Regions from separate parts of the Homo sapiens genome. Here regions 2 and 3 are each linked to region 1. Evidence: promoter capture Hi-C in 16 types of primary human blood cells and fetal thymus (Javierre and others, 2016). All regions are on one chromosome and are shown on one strand. Each heading gives the region's core, a stretch centred on a gene start or on the middle of the fragment in contact. The rest is flanking DNA. Distances are from core to core; before and after follow the strand shown.

Evidence for each region. Contacts are between HindIII fragments. The CHiCAGO score rates a contact against its expected background, and 5 or more counts as called.
Region 2: a fragment that was not itself captured here is called in contact with the fragment with the promoter of ATG10 in region 1 in 1 of 17 cell types (non-activated CD4 T cells); the score reaches 5.0 in non-activated CD4 T cells.
Region 3: a fragment that was not itself captured here is called in contact with the fragment with the promoter of ATG10 in region 1 in 2 of 17 cell types (total CD4 T cells and non-activated CD4 T cells); the score reaches 5.8 in total CD4 T cells.

What each region holds. Positions count from the first base shown.
Region 1 is chr5:81,970,411-81,973,877 of GRCh38, reverse strand. ATG10 (autophagy related 10) reads right to left here and starts at 1,855. Exons shown (of 8, transcript NM_031482.5): 1 at 1,572-1,855. RefSeq lists silencers at 1,455-1,694, 1,865-2,194 and enhancers at 1,209-1,764, 1,765-2,322. The HindIII fragment of the contact is 10,147 bases long and covers 1-3,467 here.
Region 2 is chr5:81,403,475-81,406,941 of GRCh38, reverse strand. No RefSeq gene overlaps it. Among named protein-coding and RNA genes, the nearest start is that of ACOT12, 11 kb to the right of the region's middle. The HindIII fragment of the contact is 5,410 bases long and covers 1-3,467 here.
Region 3 is chr5:81,442,244-81,445,710 of GRCh38, reverse strand. SSBP2 (single stranded DNA binding protein 2) reads left to right here. Exons shown (of 17, transcript NM_001256732.3): 13 at 2,988-3,058. Among named protein-coding and RNA genes, the nearest start is that of ACOT12, 50 kb to the right of the region's middle. The HindIII fragment of the contact is 3,403 bases long and covers 1-3,398 here.

The DNA.
Region 1 (3,467 bases), core at 606-3,105:
ACTATTTCCACTAATTTCTTCAATTTAAAATATCAATAACAATTTTTAAACTCTGCAATTTGCAAGACTTTAATTTTAATTTCTCAATACTCAGGATTTATTTTTTGGTCAAAGTTCTGTAACATTTCCTCTGGTCACTGTTTAACCTTTCTGAAGCAATGAGAAAGGATTCTACTTGGAGTCCTAAGATGTATTTGAGTACCACACAGGGCCTATGTCCTTCCATCCTGAGAAGCATAAACTTGTTTTTGCCACTAAAGAATAGAGACCATTGTCCAATAACAAAAGTTATAAATATGACTCAAAATGAACCTGTGACAAAGATTTATTAAACTCACAATGGAACAAGCTGAATGGCTTAGTGTGCTCAAAAGCATTTCAGGAACTGAGCATAAACACTGAAGAAAGGATGGTAAGTTTGATAGGTTAGACAGAAAAATGGTTAATATTGGCCGGGCGCGGTGGCTGACGCCTGTGATCCCAGTACTTTGGGAGGCCGAGGCAGGCGGATCACAAAATCAGGAGTTCCGGACCAGCCTGGCCAATATGGTGAAACCCCGTCTCTACTAAACTTACAAAAATTAGCTGAGCGTGGTGGCGGGCACCTGTAGTCCCAGCAACTCGGGAGGCTGAGGCAGGAGAATTGCTTTAACCCGAGAGGCAGAGGTTGCAGTGAGCCGAGATCGTGCCACTGCACTCCAGCCTGGGCGACAGAGCAAGACTCTGTCTCAAAAAAAAGAAAAGAAAAATGGCTAATATCCTACAAGGCACTAAAACTACAACCTTTAGGAGTACTGTATTTTTTTCTCTCCCACTCAGAAATAATTTGCATCTCCATTAATGAAAAAGATGTTAACTACAAAGCCTAGGCCCTAATCAATATCATCATGCCAAACAAAATATAGTCCCCTAGACATCTAAATCATCTTCAGGTGGGCCTGTTAGGCTCCATTTTGACTCTGAAAAAAACATGCTGTCCTTTTGCCTTATTTCCAATACTTTTGTAATTTTTACCGCCACTAAAAGTTTCTATAAATCAGTCAACTATTCCTTTATCATTCTCCGGTCCTCCCCGCCAATTCTTGATTTTATAGGTTTTTTGGGAGGTTTAAAAAAAAAAGAAAGACCTGTTGGCTCTAAATATCAAGTTATTCCTCCTGATACTTAATCTGAAACTTCAAATTAAGTTGGACTCAGCCACTGGAAGCCCCAGTAATTTAATACTGTTTCAACCAAAGATTTGCTATCAGTATGTGGATTTTAAACACAAAGTAGTTACTACCCACTTCGAGGGTGCTTTGGGTACTGGGCCAGGTGTGCTGGTGACACCGTGTGCGCGACGGGGACCGGGTCCCCGAGGAGGGAGTGTCCTCGCCCTTCCCCGCTCGCGGCGGCCAGCACAGGCCTGCAGTTACCGGCGGGGACCCGCTTCCCCGGCCTTTTGTTCAGGACTGGGCTGTTTCCCGCCTACCCGCGCGTGCCCTTCCTCCCTGTCCTAGGAGTGGGGCAAGGACCGTGTGGGAAGCAGAGCCGGGAGGAGACAACCGGCAAGGGCTGTGGGGAATACTCACCCCTCTCCGCTCGGCCCCTGACCCCGCAGCCCAGCCCGGCGAGGGCGGGGCGACGGGGCCAGGGGGAGGAGAGCTGGGGAGAGGGACCCAGCGCCCTGCGAGGCCACTGCCGCGCCGGTGACCCTACGGAACTGAATGATGGGACTGCGGGGGCCTCGAGGGCGGAGGAAGAGCCGAGCCAGCGCGCCCCGAGGCCAACCAGAAGTGGCCGTGGCCTCCTTCAGTCAGGTCCGCGGCCTCCTTCAGTCAGGTCCGCCACGGCCGAGTCGGAGCGTGCGCACTGCGCCTTCCCGCGCCGTGGGGGCCGCCTAGCGCAGGCCGGTGACGTGATCGGCCGCGCGCTCTGGGCAGGGCGGGGCTGAGACCCAGGCCGGGACTGGGAGCGGGTGGAGAGGAGGGAAGCGAGACCTCCCCGCCGCCCGCGACCACCCCCGCCAAGGCCCCGCCCCTCGCCTGGCGGGCAGCTCTCCCCCGCCAACCCCCACCTCCAACCCAACGCAGGCGGTGCCCTCCGCGGAGCACAAAGGCGGCTCGTTGACGGGGGAGCGGGTTACTAGCATCCCCCTAAGAGGTTGGGGAACCATGCCAGCATGCTTACGCTACAAAAAGTCCTGTAAACACCACAATTAAGCACAAGCACGGCTACCCCTTGAAAACTTACGGATGGAGGGAGAAGTTAGGAATTCGAATATTGACAATAGTACCATCTGTGGCACATATCCCAGAGGAGAAAAAAAAAAAACTAGCAGCAAAATTAAATTGGGGCGAAACGATGGGGATAAAGACTAGAAAAAATGTAGGAGTAACAGGGGTAATCGAACTGAAATAGCAGACATCTGAAAGAAAACTAGCATCTGCTCCTTCTAACAACAGAGTTAAATTTGTTGGAAATGAAAGGAGAAAATGCAGGCGAAGAAGTGAAAGGAAAACCTGCCTTCAAACTACATGACATAGTTTTTTGATCTTGTACTACAGTTGTGTAAGATGTCACCATTGGAGGAAACTAGGTGATAGGTACACGGGACTCTAGGTGCTGTAGTATTTTTGCAATTTCCTGTGTCTATAATTATTTCCAAATAATAAGTGTTTTTAAAAGGAGAGAATACTGATCAGTGGCGACCAGGGCAAAGGGCTGGAGGAAGGGGGTGACTGAAAAGGAGCTTGAGAGCTTCTATACCGTGATTGTGTTGGTGACTAAACCACTGTTTGACAAAACCCATAAGAGGTATAAATTTTACTGCATGTGAAATAGTTTAAAACTCAAAATGATGCGACTAATAAAAATGAACTTACACTAACATTTTTTAGCAACTATGGATATAAATTAATTGGTAGCTGCCAATTTAGATTATCCATTTAATTTTTTTAAAAGCACAAGGCAGTGTGTTCTGAATGAGAGCTTAAGTAGACCAGGTGTCTCCATCAACTTTAAGTATTTACCTTAAAAACGTATTTCACAGATGAAAACAAGAATGCGGCTGGGCGCAGTGGCTCACGCCTGTAATCCCAGCACTTTGGGAGCCCGAGGTAGGAGGATCGCTTTAGCCCAGGAGTTCAAGACCAGCTATGGGCAAGGCAGTGAGACCTCATCTCTACAAAAATTTTTCAAAATAACAATAAATTTTTAAAAAAAGAATGCATTGCTTTACATTGTACTCCATATTTTAGAAACACAGTGCACCAACCACCATGTTAATTTAAAAAAAATTTTTTTTGCACTGGAGGTGTTTTAAAGTTTCATAATTCACATGCCAAAAACAAAGAAACTAAAAGAAATAACTCAGTTAACCTCCATGTACTTCCTCTCATCATATCCCTCATGGCAAAGAATGATATTGGCCTGTTTATGTGTTTACCCTACAACACTATAAACTGCTTTAAGGCTACGGTCTGTCA
Region 2 (3,467 bases), core at 556-3,055, 570 kb after region 1:
TTCGAGACCAGCCTGGCCAACATAGTGAAACCCCGTCTCTACTAAAAATACAAAAAATTAGCTGGGCGTGGTGGTGGGCGCCTGTAATCCCAGCTACTGGGGAGGCTGAGGCAGGAGAATCGCTTGAACCTGGAAGGCAGAGGTTGCAGTGAGCCGTGATCGTGCCACTGCACTCCAGCCCCGGCGACAGTGCGAGACTCCGTCTCAAAAATAAATAAATAAATAAATAAATAAATAAATAAATAAATAAATAATTTTACTTGTCTATCTGAGTTTTAGCAGTTTTTAAAGGAAGAAACAAGAAAGTGTTCAATGACTGATAGAAAATGATAGTTCAAAAACAAGCTGATTATTTTTATTAAACATGATAACTGACTTCTACTGATAAATGTTAGGCATGTCATATTAGGTAGACATTTGATCATGGTAGATCTTGAGTTTGCTCACCTTTTTTATGCTACAGCCTTTTTTTTTTTTTTTTTTTTTTTTTTTTTTTTTTTTTTTTTTTTTTGAGACGGAGTCTCGCTCTGTCGCCCAGGCCGGACTGCGGACTGCAGTGGCGCAATCTCGGCTCACTGCAAGCTCCGCTTCCTGGGTTCACGCCATTCTCCTGCCTCAGCCTCCCGAGTAGCTGGGACTACAGGCGCCCGCCACCGCGCCCGGCTAATTTTTTGTATTTTTAGTAGAGACAGGGTTTCACCTTGTTAGCCAGGATGGTCTCGATCTCCTGACCTCATGATCCACCCGCCTCGGCCTCCCAAAGTGCTGGGATTACAGGCGTGAGCCACCGCGCCCGGCCGCTACAGCCTTTTTATGCTATAATACCATAACAAATGTCTATTAATATTTTTTATATCAGCTTTAATGGAATATTATAAATGTGTAGTGACATTTTTAGTCAAATGCTTTTGAATATTTAATGTTTGGTAACAATAGGGGAAAGCAGGGGAGGAAGAGAGCATGCCCCTTCATCCTTAATTACTGGTCCTTTGCATGCAGGAAATATGGCTTGATTGTTTTATTGTCCACCTCTTCAATCAACAATTCTTAAATATGGTGCATAGTAAGTGTATCTAGGCTTCTAAGACTTGCACAAATCTGTAAACATAAGCAATATAAAGCTATGTTAGCTTGCATGCTCATCCCATCTATTGTACCATTTATGTGAACTTGATTCATCCAAACATGTCACCACAGTATTTTTTCATCCAAACACATTTATCGTGTTATTTCAACATCTGATGCAGGCGCTGGGGGTCATGGATTGGTGGAGAGGCGCCCATACCCAATTATAACTGATTAATTGTATGGCTTTCAAAAATTGAAATAGCAGAAAATAATAATTGAGGAAAATAATTAAATCATAGTCCAACATATTTCAGAAACCTATGTATTTGATGGATTGCTTACAATAATTAACAGCTTAGAGCTCTGAAATAAGACTTGCTTCTTTGCAAGGAGGCAAGTAAAATTGACCAGTGAGTATGCTGATTAAATACTGTGATTTCACTCTGTGTCCCAAGTGATTTACGTGTACATCAACGCAAAAGCTAAGACTGAAGAGTGAGGCAGAAGGTGACCAGGTTAGCAGGCTGGGCTGTGCCGCAGGGCAGCAGAATGAATATATGCACATTGTTCTCTGGAGTGAGCCTTCCTTTCCCTGAAGCTGAGGGTCTGTGGGAGCCTAAGGGGCTCCATAAATCTCAGCACTAGTATATTCCAGGGGATGATCGCCAGCAGCATTAAGAGCTATGTTTAGCCTTTATGCCATACTGTATCTTTATTAACCCTTCAGATGCAAATTCTGAAACAAAACATTAAAATGTGACTCACTCCAAACAGAAAGATGGAAATGTATTCCTACTAAGAAATATGTGTAACTTCTAGAAAAAGAAAAAAAAACCCACAGAGATTTGTTTTCAACATATTGTTTTTGCTTAAGATATATTTTTACTCTTAAAAATTAAGAAATAGAAGGCCTTTTATTAGAAGCAGTGTAGTGTCACAGAATGACAAAGCACAGTATCAGCAGACAGAAAACGTGGGTTCTAATCTTGCTTTCCCTACATAACTCTCAACTGGTTATTTAGGTTCTCAATAAAGTAGAATGATGAAATACGTCTTCTTAATGCTATTGTATTTTGTTAATATCTAACACTGTTGATATCAAGATGAGATCTTATAAGTAGCTGGAAAACTATCAGTGTAGGGAAAGAATCTGAAAAAAAATTGTTAATCTATTTTTCTGCTGATACGAGCAAGTTAAGGGGTCTAATTTACTATTTTTGAGTTCACTTTCCTTTGTTAATAGTCTATTCTCATTGAAATGCCAGAGAAATAGTCGAATAATGTCAATCTTTTCAGACAACTCCAGGATCCTAAAGAAAAAAGCAACTAAGGAATGATGACAGCAGTAATGTGAAAAAATGTATCATATGCCCAGTGGATTTATCCCGTTCACATAACTGGCTAACAAGAATGTTTTTTATGAGAGGCTGAGGCAGGAGAATTGCTTGAACCCAGGAGGTGGAAGTTGCAGTGAGCCAGGATCATGCCACTGCACTCCAGCCTGGGCAACAGAGCAAGACTCTGTCTTAAAGGTTAAAAAGGTTTTTTAATGCCTAGTCTACAGGACTTTTGTCCCCTTTATTGCATTCTGAGCTTCACTATGTCTAAGCTCTAAGACTCTGACCTAATGAGTTGCTAGTAGATATTTCAAGAACAGAGGTATCAAAATCTCAAAACATATTCATATAACTCATTCTTGTGGAGATTATTTGCCATTCTTTTTCATTGCTTTGAAGAGAACTTTAAATGTCCACTTAAAGGAAGAAAGCTACCATAATAATACGGTTGATGTAGTATTGAAGTTTTAGTTCCTGAAATGTTTAGAATATGAATTTAGAAAAAGAAGAAAAAAGATGCCACAGATAAGTGAATTTCACAAAAATATCTTAATTAAAATGCCCAAAGCCGAATTATGGTTTAGCATCAAACGTCACAGAACCTGATTTATTTTGGAGGTAGAGAAAAAAGAGGACAAGGAGGCAGTTGCCAGATCACATAGGGCATTTCGGGAAAAAATCCTTTGAAAGTCATTTTATAAAATCTTTGTTAGTCTATGGTTCATTATAGACATTTTCCCTTAATTGGTGGGCAAGGACTTGAAAAGGTGAGGCTTGTTGGTGGCTGACCAACCTGCCTGATTTGAGGACGCACTGATGAGTCTTCAGGTTTCTGCATCTTTAGCACAGTCATTTATAGCTCATATACATATATATGTATATATGTGTACATATACATATATGTACATACATATGTATGTATATATATACACACACATATATATTTTATATTTGAATTCGGTTTCAAATAGTTTTGTATTTTACATTAGGTATGTTTGGAGAATTATGCTGCAACAAATATACATAAATTATTTGGAAACAGAAATATCTTTAAATTGGGTT
Region 3 (3,467 bases), core at 448-2,947, 530 kb after region 1:
TTCAGTATCATTGATCATACCAATAAAAATTTTTAATTTTGAGCCCTTTCAATTTAGAAAAATCATAAACTTGATAATTAATACAAAATTTTACTTTGCTTCACTAACTCCTTGGATATTTAATGGTCTGTGTCCTGAAGGCATCTTCATTGAAAATGATACAATTCATCGAAGATAGAATTATATCAACTGATCATCTTGCCCATATTTATGTTCTTATATGGTGAAGTTAATGTTTAATTTATGAAGGTAGCATGTGAATAATAAATGCTTCACTGCAAGACTAAAAAAAAGTTTTTGGAGCAACACTGAACATTGCAGGCAATAAGTAATCTTCCTTTCAAACCAGAAATTGCCACAAGTACATCTTCCTAGTCTTTTTGCATACTCTTTTATGTGTTCATCCTGTGTCACAGTCACTCCTCTAATACTCAGCCAGCACCCCACCCACAAGAAAGGAGGTCCCAGGAGATCCACTTTATTGTAAAGTTTTTCTGTACATAGAAGTCAGACATTTTCCAGTAAATACATACATATATATATATATATATATATATATATATATATATATAAAATTTTTTTTTTCTTTGCTGAGACAGAGCCTCTGTCACCCAGGCTGGAGTGCAGTGGCACAATCTCAGCTCGCTGCAAGCTCAGCCTCCTGGATTCAAGCAATTCTCCTGCTGCAGCCTCCCGAGTAGCTGGGATTACAGGAGTGTGCCACCATGCCCGGCTAATTTTTGTATTTTTAGTAGAGACGGGGTTTCACCATGTTGGCAAGGCTGGTCTGGAACTCCTAACCTCAAGTGATTCACCTGCCTTGGCCTCCCAAAGTGCTGGGATTACAGGTGTGAGCCACCTCGCCTGGCCATAAATACCAATCTTATCTCTCTCAAATTTTTTCTGTAGCAGATGAAATTATATTCTTGATTAGTCTTTAAAATGATAAATTTCTTTTCTTTGTGCACATTTAAAATATGTAGCCCATCTTCCTTTTACCAAGAGTAAGGCCAATACAGTTGAAAAACCATTTGAAGATTTCCTATGTTTAAAAAGCAATCCAAGATTTTTTAAAGTTAATCTTGTGTGTGATTGAGTTTATTCCAACAGTTAAATCTAAGTTAGCAGTACTTATTGTCTTTAGTACACAAGATGAGTAAGACACGGTCCTTTCCTTCTCTCCATGAGCTTATTATGTCCTAGTTGGAAGCAGGAGGAACGAATAAAGCAGTAAAGTATTCCTATAATGGAAGGCAGAACTCAGTGGGAGGGGAGCACTCATGCACTTGGAACTGCCAGGAAAAAACCTCATGGAAGACATAACATTTGAGATAGCCCTTCGATAGTGAGTAGAATTTCAGTGCATAGAGATTGAGAAGGTGTTTGGAGGAAGAAAGAACAAAATCATGGAGGCAGAAAGGTTGGTCACAGGAAAAAACAAGTAGCCTGGGTTGACAGGAGTATAGCATACACAAGGATGTAAAAACAGTTAAGGTCACAAAAGTAGGTTAGGACCTTCCTTAGAATAAACAAATAGGGTCAACCTGAGGTAGGCACTCCAACTTTTTCAACATTATGATATATTCAAATAGATATATTCAAATAAGATACAGTATTTAGATTTATGGGTCATTGTTCACAGCCAACCAATAAATGACATGAGATCTACTCTGTAAGTAATACACACTAAAATAATAAACTTATTAATGTCTAATGAGTAATCACACAGTAAAAGGAAAAGTAATTGCCACTCTATGGTTACTGCCATGAGAAAGTAAATGATACTTACCTTCTGTCTCAAATCAGTACAAAAATTTTAAACACATCTTTTTCTCAAAATGGGCCTACTGGCGGGGCGCGGTGGCTCACGCCTGTAATCCCAGCACTTTGGGAGGCCAAGGTGGGCAGATCACAGGGTCAGGAGATCAAGACCATCCTGGCTAACACAGTGAAACCCCATCTCTACTAAAAGTATAAAAAATTAGCCAGGCGTGGTGGCATGCACTTGTAGTCCCAGCTACTTGGGAGGCTGAGGCAAGAGAATCGCTTGAACCCGGGAGGCGGAGGTTGCAGTGAGCCAAGATTGTGCCACTGCACTCCAGCCTGGGCGATAGAGCAAGACTCTGTCTAAAAAAACAAAATAAAACAAAAGAGGCCTACTACATTATATTTAAGAAAACTGTATAATGTGGAAAAATAGAAAACCATAATTTATCATTTATATTTTCTCAATGTAAAATATTTAGCCTTTCACTCTAGGTTTTATATTATAAAAACATGTATGCTCAGAGACTTAATTAGAATTAGCTAACAGACATGAAATATAAATTTTTTAAATACTGCACAATGTTACATATATTTATATGGATATGCAGTACAGATATTTTTATTATAATAAATCAAAAATAAAGTGAGTAAAAACATTTCATCAGAAGTTGTGCTGGAAGAAGCTGGCTTTTAGTTCAAACAGGAGAATTACATTATTCTAATTGTATACTCTTACTCTAATCTTTTTCTTTCGGAATTAAGCCAGGATAGTCCACCAGCTTTCACTAATTATTAAGTAAAAAGACTATTTTTAAAATTTGTATATTGGAAACTTAAGGAAATAAAACTGAAAAGCAACTGAATCTGAATTTTAAGAGATATTATATATTACATATACACACATACACACACATAGAATTGCTTGAAGTAAAAAAGTATCTTTTTTAAAAAGAAAAACTTTACTATAATTTTTTAAATTTCTAATAATCCTTTTACCTGAATTATTGAAGTGATTCCTCATACCTAATTTATGACCTCAGAATGACAATTTTGGGGTCAGAAAATGACTGTGGGTATTTATTTTTAGTAATGACAATTTCAAGTGTTGCAGCTTATATAGAGAGAGGTATCTGTATGCAAACCATCTTTGATCATTACTTTGTGATGAATTGGGTATAGACTCTAAAGAAATATTTTAATTAAGTAATATTTTGTTTCAGATTCAACCAACTCTGGTGATAACATGTATACTTTAATGAATGCAGTACCTCCTGGACCTAACAGACCTAATGTAAATATGAACTTTTTTTATTTTTGGAATGTATTTGAAGACTTTCAAACTCTGAGTGCATTCCATGTCCTGTATATTGTTTAAACTTTATATTTTATTATCCAGGAGCTTATTAGATATTCAAAAAGTCAAATTCTTTTCTCTGAGCTGGGTTAAAAAAACAGTAAACATATATAACAGAGATTTTATATCAATATAATTTAAAAGTAAAACTGATCCTAATCAATTACACATTAGTTTCATCTTATTTTATTGTAAATAATTAATGATATATACTATTTGAAAATGACAGGTTATGTATAATCATTTATATTAACCTCATTTTTAGCATCACTAAGCTTTTTCATTGTGATCTTTTTTTGTCCTGATAAACTTGAAAATAAAGGAGGAAGTTGGCTATGCTTGTTTT